Regions from separate parts of the Homo sapiens genome. Here all the other regions are linked to region 1. Evidence: promoter capture Hi-C in 16 types of primary human blood cells and fetal thymus (Javierre and others, 2016). All regions are on one chromosome and are shown on one strand. Each heading gives the region's core, a stretch centred on a gene start or on the middle of the fragment in contact. The rest is flanking DNA. Distances are from core to core; before and after follow the strand shown. Region 1 holds the start of KRTAP4-5 (keratin associated protein 4-5). Region 2 overlaps LOC105371777 (a long non-coding RNA gene). Region 3 has its middle 10 kb from the start of KRT32. Region 4 overlaps LOC100505782 (a long non-coding RNA gene).

The links. Contacts are between HindIII fragments. The CHiCAGO score rates a contact against its expected background, and 5 or more counts as called.
Region 2: a fragment that was not itself captured here is called in contact with the fragment with the promoter of KRTAP4-5 in region 1 in 1 of 17 cell types (endothelial precursors); the score reaches 6.2 in endothelial precursors.
Region 3: a contact is called between a fragment that was not itself captured here and the fragment with the promoter of KRTAP4-5 in region 1, in 2 of 17 cell types (total CD4 T cells and naive CD4 T cells). The highest score is 7.4, in total CD4 T cells.
Region 4: a contact is called between a fragment that was not itself captured here and the fragment with the promoter of KRTAP4-5 in region 1, in 4 of 17 cell types (total CD4 T cells, total CD8 T cells, naive CD8 T cells and 1 more). The highest score is 5.9, in total CD4 T cells.

What each region holds. Positions count from the first base shown.
Region 1 is chr17:41,148,223-41,151,141 of GRCh38, forward strand. It overlaps KRTAP4-5 (keratin associated protein 4-5), which reads right to left and starts at 1,603. Exons shown (of 1, transcript NM_033188.4): 1 at 702-1,603. The coding sequence starts at 1,545. The coding sequence ends at 1,000. The HindIII fragment of the contact is 5,677 bases long and covers 1-2,919 here.
Region 2 is chr17:40,870,273-40,873,290 of GRCh38, forward strand. The region is part of intron 1 of LOC105371777 (a long non-coding RNA gene); the gene reads left to right. Among named protein-coding and RNA genes, the nearest start is that of KRT12, 4.6 kb to the left of the region's middle. The HindIII fragment of the contact is 527 bases long and covers 1,440-1,966 here.
Region 3 is chr17:41,455,870-41,458,798 of GRCh38, forward strand. No RefSeq gene overlaps it. Among named protein-coding and RNA genes, the nearest start is that of KRT32, 10 kb to the right of the region's middle. The HindIII fragment of the contact is 807 bases long and covers 1,111-1,917 here.
Region 4 is chr17:41,412,476-41,415,577 of GRCh38, forward strand. LOC100505782 (a long non-coding RNA gene) reads left to right here. Exons shown (of 3, transcript NR_040111.1): 3 at 1-113. Among named protein-coding and RNA genes, the nearest start is that of KRT37, 11 kb to the right of the region's middle. The HindIII fragment of the contact is 7,068 bases long and covers 1-3,102 here.

The DNA.
Region 1 (2,919 bases), core at 353-2,852:
TTCAATCATAGTAACAGCAGAAATTGTATTTATTTATTTATTTATTTATTTATTTATTTATTTATTTATTGAGACAGAGTTGCTCTGTCACCCAGGCTGGAGTGCAGTGACATGATCTCGGCTCACTGCAACCTCCTCCTCCTGGGTTCAAGTGATTCACCTGCTTCAGCCTCCCAAGTAGCTGGGACTACAGGTGTGCACCAACACGCCCAACTAATTTTTGTACTTTCAGTAGAGAAGGGATTTCACTATGTTGCCCACACTGGTCTCGAATTCCTGGCCTCAAGTGTTCCACCCACTCAGCCTCCCAAAGTGCTGGGATTGCAAATGTGAGCCACCACGCTCGGCCAGAAACTGTATCCATTAAGAGCCTATACTGCATTATGTACCAGGCCCTGTGGTGAGTATATTACATGGGTTATGTCTCTTAACATTTAAAGAATGTAATGCATTATCTCTATTCACAGAGAAAGAAAACTGAGGCCTGAGGAGGTTAAAAAACTTGCCCCATGCCACGCAACAAATACCTAGGGGAGTCGTGATTCCAATGCAGGGAACATGAATCAAGAGCCCAGGCTCTTAAACATGCTCTCCTGCATTTGAAGAGAGATGGCCCTTGATGTGAACTGACAGGTAAAGACACACACACACACACACACACACGCACAATGAGATCACTAACAAATCAGAAGATTTCAATATTAGGGAAGTGGCTGTTTATTAATACATGAAAACAATATTATATGAGATCATCACAGTTAGTGTCCCCTTCGAATGAAGACACTGCTCATCTAAAAATAACTGCATTGGGGCCTGGCATAACATATTTTAATGAATGTGATTGTCTGTCATTTCCTAGAAGAGCTGAATGTCCACTCTGAATGCCACATGAGACAAACTGGCAGGGAAGTGTTCATTTTTCCAGTGACTGGCTGGCTACAGTGCATTTTAAATGACTAATGAAGACATTCATAGTATGACAAATATCACAAGGAGACATTAGCAGCAAGAGGAGGCACAGCACAAGGGGCGGGGGCAGGTGGAGATGACACAGGTTGGGCGATAGCAAGTGGTGTGGCAGGAGACTCGGCCACAGACTGGACGCACGCAGCAGCAGGGGCGGCAGCAGCTGGATTCACAGCAAGAGGGGTGGCAGCAGCTGGAGATGCAGCAGCTGGGACGGCAGCAAGTGGGCTGGCAGCACACAGACTGGCAGCACTGGGGTCTGCAGCAGCTGGACACACAGCAGCTGGGGCAGCAGCAGGTGGTCCTGCAGCAGGTGGTCCTGCAGCAGGTGGTCTGGCAGCAGCAGGGGCGGCAGCAGCTGGATTCACAGCAATAGGGGCGGCAGCAGCTGGAGATGCAGCAGCTAGGGTGGCAGCAGGTGGGCTGGTAGCACACAGACTGGCAGCACTGGGGCTTGCAGCAGCTGGGGCGGCAGCAGGTGGTCCTGCAGCAGGTGGTCTGGCAGCAGCTGGGGCGGCAGCAGTTCTCCAGGCCACAGCTCTGCTCAGAGCTGACAGAGCCACAACAGGAGCTGACCATGGTGTCAGAGGGTGGAGGTTCTGGGTGGATTTCTAGAAGAATGAGGTTCTCAAGTTTGGAAGTGTCCTTGGGCCACAGCCTCTTATATACTGCCCAGCTGTCTTGTTGGTACTACATTTTCCTTGTTTTTGTTTACTTAATAACTAAGTGATTATCAGATTACACAATAATGTTTGCCCATTTAATGGTTTAAACTTGTTGAAAACAAAATTTTCTTGTCCGGATGTAATAAGATCTATCATGTCTGCCTTCTCTCATGATTCACACCTCGGTAGCATCTTCTAGACCACGTTCTCTTCCTCTTCCTCCACAGAGGGCTGTTCATGTGATTCCCTGCATTTGGAATTGCATTTCTTACTCTCGCTTCAGGTACCCTCTACCAAAATGGGATTTGGTCAGTCACACTTCCAGTTATGCATTCCCTCTAGTGACCAATAGCGAGGAAAACCCATCTGCTCAGTGTGGCATTCCTAGTCTGTGGGTCATTATTAAGCAATAAGCAAAGGGATAGCAATACCTGCATGTGGCCTTGGTGACCTCTACACTATTGAAATGGGTTTCCCTGAATGTTTCAAATTTTGGGTCATATTCCATATCCTTAAATTTTTATACTTGGTGTTACTAATGGGTCAGTTTCTTAAATTGATACTTTGCTCTCCTATATTTTGTGTCATGTCTCTCCAGTTAATCTATTAGATTCCGGAAGACATAGTCCCATTTTTATTCCATAACTCATTGTTTTTTTTAAATGCCTCTAACTGTCTGTTAACATAATGCAGGTGTGTGTTTTCACTTTTTAAAAAAGAAATTTGAGATAATTGTAGATTTACATACAGCTGTAACAAACAGTCCCAGGAGAGGCTGTCTGTACTTCACCCAGGCTCCCTAACACTGTGTAACACCTGTATAATACTTTTAAGAATCTATCTACCCCCACTACTGTGTCTTGCATGATGTGCTTAATATAGAAAGAACTCAAGCTCAGTGAAATTAAAAACAATTAGTTATTTTTCAGATTGACGTATAATATTGTATTTACCACATACAACATAATATTTTGAAGTATATATACATTGTGGAAGGATTAAATCTAGCTAATAAATGCATTACCTCTCATACCTATCATTTTTTTGTGGTGAGAACGCTTAATATCCATTCTTAGAATTTTTCAAGAATACAGTATGTACAATATATCATCATTAACTATAGTCACTATGCTATACAGTAGACCTCTTGAACTGATTCTTCCTGTCTAGCTACAATTATATGTCTTTTGACCAGTATCTCCTCAAGCCCCTGACTCCCTAGCCACCCCTAGCCTCTGATTATCTTCATTCTCTGCTCTACTTCTATGATATCAACTTTTTTGAGTGC
Region 2 (3,018 bases), core at 453-2,952, 280 kb before region 1:
TGCTTCTTTCGCTGGCCTTTATCTCATTGGAGTTAGTCTCAATGGTTAGCACTTGTTTTGCCTTGTAGAGTACAGACTGACTCCTGAGGAATTCCAGACCTGTAGCCTAGATTCCCCGTAGTTTACTGCTGCCTCCTGTCCACCTGCATATCCAGATATTATCTCCCTGATTACAGCCTCCCCGAAGCTGAGGTTCTTCCATTGTGAAGAGTCCTGAGCCAGAACTAGCAGTGCCCACTGGGGATTAGGGGACAGATGCCGAGGGGTCACACCTGAAGCCCATGGCAAACCTCCATAAGGAATACCTGGGATCAATTCTGGCAAATGGAAGGACTGTTTTGACTTTTTATTAAAAAAAAAAAAAAAAGCCACTTTCCCAGGGACACAAATGATGAACCCGTGGTGAAATCCAATTACAACTTCCTTTTATATTATTACATAAGGGACAAATGTGAAGGGACATATTTCTCCCCAACCTAAACTCGTCACAAAGAGCAAGCAAGTGGGATTTCTAAATAAAGGGGGTTTAAGCAAGAGATTTGCAGAAATCACACATTTGCTATAGATGTGGAAAGAATGTAGCAACCTAAGGCAGTCTCAGCTTGAGAGAAGCCATGATCCATTTGTTTAATTTCTTGAGAGAATGAAAATCTGGTCAGTGGAAATGCCAGTGATTTTAGCCCCATATGGAGGTTTTTACCAAGGATTCCTTAAATCTATATTATAAGCATTTTGACTGAGCTGGTCTTGTTTGAATTATCAGTTATTATGTACTTACTACTTTTTGGACACTGGGCCAGCTGAATTACAGACATTATTTTTTAACCTTCACGGCAAGCTCTTAAAGTGGTACTGGTTTTATTTGTTTGTTTGTTTGAAACAAGGTCTTGCTTGGTTGCCCTCACTCCGGCTGGAGTGCAGTGGTGTGATCATAGCTCTCTGAAACCTTGAACTCCTGAGCTTAAGCAATCCTCCTGCCTCAGCCTCCCAAGTAGCTAGGACTACAGGTGGGCACCACAACACTGGCTATTTTTTTTTTTTTAATTTTTTTGTAGAGATGGAGTCTTGTTATATCGCGTAAGCTGGTCTTGAACTTTAGGCCTCAAGTGATCCTTCTGCCTTGGCCTCCCAAAGCACTGGGATTACGGGCATGAGCCACCTCAAGGCGCCCAGCTTCAGGTGGTACTTTTATCCTATTTTACAGATGAGCAATCTGAGAGTCCAGATGTTAAGTGATTTATTTACGCCCATGCAGCTGGGAGGAGGCAGAGATAGGATTCGGGCCTGCAGTGCCTTCTATAGATACCACAACCTTGCTGCTGGCGGTGACAATAAAAAGGGCAGAGGATACTCTGACATCCCCTAGCTATGACACCTGACACTAGGCTTCTGCCCTGCACATCTAACAGGAGGTGCTCTTTTTTTTTTCTTTTCTTTTAAGCTTTCTCCTTGAATTTCTCAGTGTATGGGCTGAGACCTAGAGAATGACTTTTCATGGCTTATAAGCAACAACATGACACATGAAATTCTGTAAACACACAGGCAAATGCGGTTTTCATTTTAGCTTTGACCTGTAACTACATCTCCAGAGATCTTATAAAGCACAAGTTAAACTTGCACTCCCCACACAAGAACTTGATGTTATGGTTGTTAACTATTATTCACTCCCAAGTGTCCCCCAAGACAGAGAGATTCCATTTTACTGCCATAGAAATGAAAACAGAAGCAAATAAAATGTCAAAAGAAATGTGCCAAGTTCAAAATTGTACCTCAGTGATTTGATCACATAATACGGGAATATGATTAAGTTGAATTTTTGAACTTGGAATTGATTTTGTGCTGAAAGGTACACTTTCCAACTCTAATGCCTATGGTAAAATTTAAATAATATTGCTCAATCTCTAAAAATTATGTTTATATATTATTTGTTTATGTTTCTATACATATAACATATTATCCTAGACTAAGCTTGTTAGGTAGGTACTACATCTAATTTATTTTTTATCCTGAGTCCTAGCCTAGTGTTTCGCTGAACTTTATCACTGCACTCCTTGAATGATTTCATTTGAAAGAAGTTAAGTCTTAATGTGTTTGAATGTGTCATTTGAAATTCATTTCATTTGAAAATGACTGTGCCCTAATTTACTGGTATGCTTTGACCAATATTTATTCTGAATTCAGTTATGAATGGGGAGCAACTTCAGAAGTTGAAAAGGGAAATATTTCTTCTTCAGTGGCTTTTTTTTTTTTAAGTGGGAGGCTAAGTTAAATAATCAAGACTCTGCTTTAGAGGTTTTAGAAGTGAAAATAATTTTCTTTGACAGCCACATTAATGTATAAGGCAGTGGTGATGTAAAAAACAATAAACAATCTTGGGCTTGTTGGCAGAGTGATTGCATAAGTTGAGGCAGAGAGGAAAATGATTATAGCCAGGGCAAACTGTTCAAAAGAATTATATCTTCCATTTTTGTAGAGTTTAGGAAATGTTCAAAATAGAGAAAATTAGTTATGTGGTTTTTACAAGTCTTTAGATTTTTATTGAGTAAATCATACCCTCATCTTTTCATGTCAGGTTGGTTTCTGTCCTGGTCTTTGCAGGGTTTTCTACCTGAGTTTTTTCCCGTAAGACAGACCTGTCATTTTCTGCAACTCGCTGATCCCTTGATCTGTAACATCTTTCACTTTGGATAACATTATAAAATCCTGTGAGTGACTGAGAGAATTTTGGGTTGCCTACATTTTATGTATTGTGCTTTTGAGATGAGGGTTAAACAAGGACCCTAAGGGGTATGAGTGAGATTGACTTCTGGGCTCCAGAGATCAATGGTTCTTGAAAGCAGGGGAGAATTTTGAAAGTGGTAGGAGACAGGAAGATGATAAAATAATACCCTGATGAGAGGAATCTTGGAAATGAGCCTAGGGGAGAGAAAACAGAGATGTTTGAAAGAGAATTCAAAAATAAAAATCACTACTAATGCTTTAAGTTGGAATTGTTACTTGGGGGTCTAATCAGGTACC
Region 3 (2,929 bases), core at 264-2,763, 310 kb after region 1:
AGTGTTACATTTTATGAAATACAGGCCGGGTGCAGTGGCTCACGCCTGTAATCCCAGCAGTTTGGAAGGCCAAGGTGGGTGAATCACCTGAGGTCAAGAGTTCGAGACCAGCCTGGCCAACATGGTGAAACCCCATTTCTACTAAAAATACAAAAATTAGCCAGGCATGGTGGCATGTGCCTGTGGTCCTAGCTACTCAGGAGGCTGAGGCACAAGAATCACTTGAACCCAGGAGGCAGAGGTTGCAGTGAGCCAAGATCATGCCACTGCACTCCAGCCTGGGCTACGGGGCGAGACTCTCTCTCCAAAAGAAAAAAAAATTATGAAATACAAAAAGAATATTGTTTTATTATTAATGATTTTCCTGGTTATACCCTGGAAGAGGCATATTCTTTTTTTGATCACTCTCTAAAAGGTTTCCTAATATAGTGGTGAAGAAAGATTCAGTCAGTGCAATTCAGAGTCCACACACAGCCCCAACTCCCAGATGCCAAACCCAACTCCTGGATCTTTCGGGAAGCTGTCGCCCTCTGGCCAGTCTTCCTTGAATGGCAGTTCTGCCCATGGGCCCTCACTCTCACCCCCAGAAGAGGGTGCTTTGCACTAGGGCAGTGAGCAGCAGGGGTGAGGCCCAAACTCTTGAATAGCCTTGGGGAAAGTGGTGTCTTTAAAAAGCACACCCTTTTCTTTTCCAATCCCGCTCAGAGAGGATCCCTGATACCTGTGAGGGTTTCTCCAAAACATCAAATATGACAGAGGTTTTATGACTTGACCAGGGTCCTGCCTACATTTCCCTATAAACTCTTCCCCTATAAAGAGTTAATTAGATGCAAATGCTTTGATATGAGGAGAGAGTTCCTCTGAGAATCTCCATGAGTGGTACACTGAGTCCAGTTCCCAGGAGATTCCGGTGCTGGTGGGGGATAAATATCTCCCAAAGTCTATGCCCACGGCTTCTTCATCCATCAAATAAGAGACAGGCTAGGCAGGAGGGTAGCTCGTGACACCTCTGGCTTGAAGTACCATCCAGACACAGAAGATGATGGGCCTCACTTCTAGCAGAGGAGGGTACTCCTGGCCCTGGGCTGTGGGGCTTGGTTTCATATAAAAAGCTTTAACAGTCATCTTGGGAGTCAGACAGGTCTTGGCAAGTGGGAGAGACACACAGGTGTGGGAATGGGGACCGAGTTGGACTGAAACAATATGCACTGGGGAAACGGAGACTCTGGAAGTCCCCAGGGGGTCCAGGGTCCAGGACTTCTGGCCCACAACTCCTGTGCAATCATTCCTGCTGAGGCTCTGGGCTGCAGCTCAAGGTCTTTGCTCTTACTGAGCCCAGTGCTCAAAGAAAGAGGAGATGCTGAGTCTGGTAGTTGCTAGCGATGCTTTTTAAGAGAACTATATTCCCAGGAAGAAGTTTCAGCTTCTCAGAGAAAATGTCTCCCTTCTTTGGGAAATGAAAGAAAAGGAGAGGGGAAATATGTATTAGCCTGAAATAATAATAAACCTAGGGTGCTTGGAGAAAGCATAAAGTGCTTGGAGAGACCTAAGAGGCTTGGCGTCAAAACCCTTGGCTTCAATTTCCACCTGTTGGTTGTGTCTGTGAGCACATCTGTCCACCTCCCTGGGTCTGAGATGACTCTTCTGTAAAACTGGGAAAGCTGAGCCAGATCATCTGGAAGGCTCCTTCTAGTTCTGACAGTCTAAGACAGCTCTGTCCAGTAGAACTTTCTGCAGTGTTGGAAATAGTCCATGTCTGTGTTGTCTTATTTACTACCACTTAGCCACGTGTGACGAGTGCAACTCAGTGCAATTCAGTATATGAAACATTCATATACCGAATGTTTCAGTATATGCAGCCACATGTCGTTATGAACTACCATATTGGACAGAACAGGTCTAGGATTATAGAACCAAAGCTTTGGTCTGTTCTGTGTGTTGTTTATCAAGCTGAGCACATTCCAGAAAAGTTTTGCACCGGGGTTGAAATTAAAGATTGCTGGTTTGCACGCAGTTATGAGAAAATTCAATTAGCCAGAACCCCTCTCTCTTGGCATTTCAGCTCCTTGAAATTTTACCCATCCATCAACCAGGAACCACAGCTTGCTAAGCAGTATGTTCATGTCCCTGCTGTCAGGCTAATGACCTTGTCTGCCAGGGATGCCTGCAGGATCATGTCTGGAGAGCAGCCTGCAGGCAGCTTCAGGATCCAATCCATTTTTCATCATTTCTTGGCAAGGCCAGAGGGAGGATACTTAATAGAAACATCATCTCAGCTCATTAAGGAAGAACTGTGTGTTTGGAGGGTGAGGTTCAGAAAGGTGTTCAAGATTCCTGTCCCCAGCTCTCTCCTCTTTACCTGCCATGGCCAATCCATTGCCAAGTCAGGTCCATCACAGTGTCTCTTAGATTGATTCCTTATTTTTCCATGGTCCCTGACATTGTCTTGCCTGAGACCCTGTTAGCTTCTTCCACAGCCTAACCCCTCCTCTTAGCTATCCTGTCTGTGTTACTTGGTGATACTTTCTAAGATGCCACTCAAGTCATGTCATCTTTGGGCTCAAATCCTGCAGCAGCCCTCCCATTGCCTTCAGGATAGAGTCCAGAATCCAGGCTTTTTGTGGGGTACCCAAGGCCCCCCTACTCTCTGATGCCTTTCTACCATTTGAGCTTCATCCCCATCAGCCTCTCACAGGAACTCACTGCTCCAGCCAGCAAGACCCCTTGAGGCCTTCCAAGCATGACCCCCTGCTCTCCTGAAGATCCCCACACACTTACTTGCCTATCTGGTGCCCTGTAGACCTTCTATTCAACCTCCAAGACCTATTTCAAACGCCACCAGCTACAAGAAGCCTTTCAGATCCTCTCAGCTTAAGACTTTCTCCAAATCTTGACTAGTGTTTACTCTTTCTGGGTAGGAATTTGGCAG
Region 4 (3,102 bases), core at 546-3,045, 260 kb after region 1:
CATGGAGTAGGGGATTTTCCAAATATGTTTTGAATGATATTTTTTATAAAGGGTTGGGGAATGAGCTTCTCTCATAGAGAACAAAATAAACACAATCAAACATTTGGAAAATGGAAAATAGTCTAGTTGTGTTGGTATTTATAATGGAGACATTATCCCCAAGCCCCGGAAAGTTGCATTGAGTCCAGGTTGTGAAAAGTCTTAAATACCAGGACCATGGTCTTGAGGCAAAGGTGAGTGAAAGGTAGGGATCTGCCCTGGAAGACGACTTTCAAGTATAAGGAAAAATAAATAGCCAGCTTCCTTTTGAAGGAAAGTAGCAGAAAAAAGGTGGAAAGTTCCTTTACACAAATTATTAGAAAACTGAAAATGAAACCTAAGTTCAAAATTAATCTTGGTGTTTGAAAACTAACACAGTTTTTAATACTCCTTGGGTTAAATAAGAAATCTAATTTAAAAATTTTTAAGTATTTTGAACTGAATTAAAATCAATACACAACCTATAAAACAGATGTTGGCAATTAAGACTTTCCCTGTGCATACGTGAAACAGATAAGCGTTTTGGGAGTGAGAAAAAAACGGCTCATAATAAAACTGATGGTTTGCAATTTTCAGAAAATAAAATTATGCTTCTGTGTACTGGAGTCTACAGGCTAATTAAGGCAGGCAGTGATTAACACTTTATGGTGTCTGTTCTCAGGGCCTCACCCACCTTCCCAGGCATCTTTCCTTTCTATTGACCCTTTCACCAGACTGAGTCCCTCATCACCCTTGTTTACAGAAGATACGTACTCAAGAACTTTGATCTTTCATCTTTTGAAATATTTTTGCATTTCTTTGAAATGCATCTACCTTGATTATCCATTGCTTGGGAGACTCTAGAACAAAATTTAAATTTCCTTAATCTTCAGACACACTCAGAGCATCAGAACCTTTATGGCCTCCCCTATTTCTAAAACAAATAAGCCAGTGGCCATTTGTTCAATACACCCTGGAAAAGGGCAGCTAGCCAGCTTCCAGTCTATGCTAACAAAGATGCTAATTTGACCGCATTCCTAAGATGAATGAATTCACCACGAGGGCCCTTGAAGCAGCAAGTGTGTTTCAGCTGGCACTACAACATAGCATCTCCAGGACGAAAGGGACTTCAGGGTCCTCTAGTCTAGTACCCATTTGCATTAAATCCCTTCGATGACCTTCCTCCAACTAGTCATCTAGTCCACCATTTTCCAGGAGAGCTTACACCATCAGTTCCTGTGGCTTACAAACAGCTTCCCAGGCTTTGTGCAAGACACTGGTATCCAGAAAATTAACAGCAGCTAGCTCAGCCTTAAGGCACTCACATTATAGAGAATTTTTAGAAAGTCTTCACAAATCTACCTTCGTGTTACCTCTCCCTATAGCTTTTGTTGGGTCATTCATTCATTCATTCAACAAATAGCTATGAAGTACCTACTCTGTGCCAACCAGGGGCTGAGCTGGAGGCTAGTAATACATTGGCAAGTAAGTCAGAGAGTTGGCCCTTTAGTTCATTTACTCTCCAGTTCTCCCCCATGGTGTCCCATACAGGATAAATCTAATCATTCTGCCATATTCTCAGCTCTTTGTGGCAGATGTGAGATTTCTTACTCCTGGTTCTGCATTCAGCATGGTTCAAAGTCCCCTTGCCATCCCAGGAATGTTTCCCTGGACATGCTCCATGATGTAACAGTTACTATCACTCTTAAGTGCGGGCTGTACAGTGGGATTTCTGATTAGTTTAGATTGAAAGGCTGCCAGTAGATGGCCAGAAAACCTTCTTGCCCAGGACTTTTGTGTAAACCATGCTGGAGCCACTGGCTATTCAGCCATGACAACCAGCCAGCCACCAGTTGGTCCCATATACAGTCAATGAGACGCATGGGGACCCTTCTCTGTAACTCTATACAGATGTGGGTGATATTCTCCAAGGCATGATTTGCCTTATCCTGGTGACTTACTCTGAATGTCTGATATTCCTGAACTCCTGTTATACCAAAGCCCTTCTCAAGGGGATGGGGGATGCAGAGATGAAAAGGAGAAATTTCCACCCTCAAAAAGCTGAGAGCAGAAAAAGAGGTCACGTAACTCAGTGGAGGGAGAAGTGACTGGAGCTTAGAGATATAGAGGGGCCATCAAAGACACTTTGTCTGGAACTTAAGATTGGGAAGACTTGGATGGGCAGGAAAGATGGGAGACAGTTTTCCAGAAAAAGAGGATGAACAGGCCAGGCGCAGTGGCTCGCGCCTGTAATCCTAGCACTTTGGGAAGCCGAGGCAAGCGGATCACGAGATCAAGGATCGAGACCATCCTGGCCAACATGGTGAAACCCCATCTCTACTAAAAATACAAAAATTTGCTGGGTGTGGTGGCACACGCCTGTAGTCCCAGATACTCGGGAGGTTGAGGCAGGAGAATTGCTTGAACCTGGGAGGTGGAGGTTGCAGTGAGCCGAGATCGAGCCACTGTGCTCCAGCCTGGGTGACAAAAAAAAAAAGAGGATGAACACAAGAAAACACTCAGAAGCAGAAGTGGGCTCAAGAGAACTGGGTACAACTTCAGAAATGCAACAGCCAACAACAGGCCTGTCCCAAGTACTGGACCCCCAAAGAAATGAGTTTGAATGACACAAAATGTCAACCCAAAGAGCCAAATTGCATTTCTGAAGCCTGTAAGAGTGAAGTTTGTACTCCTCTATGCTAAAAATATTGTCTGCTTCTATTTTCATAACATCTCCACCAGTGGTCAAACTTTAACCAGCATCAGAATCACCCAGAGGGCTTGCAAAAAATGCAGGTTTTCAGGCCCCACACCACAGTTTCTGATTCAAGCGGTCTGGGGTCAGGCCAGGGAGTCTGCATTTCTAACAAGTTCCCACATGACACTGATGCTGCTGGTCTGGGGACCACCCTTGGAAGACGGAATCACTGCTCCATAGCAATAGACAAGTTTTGTGGTGACTTCATCCTAGGTGAATGAAGCACCAGGTCACAAAACAGGATTTGATGAATTCAAGAGGAGCCAGTGTTTGGATTACTGTACTTCAAATCAGTTAGCATGCAGTTTTCTCCAATGTAATAAGCA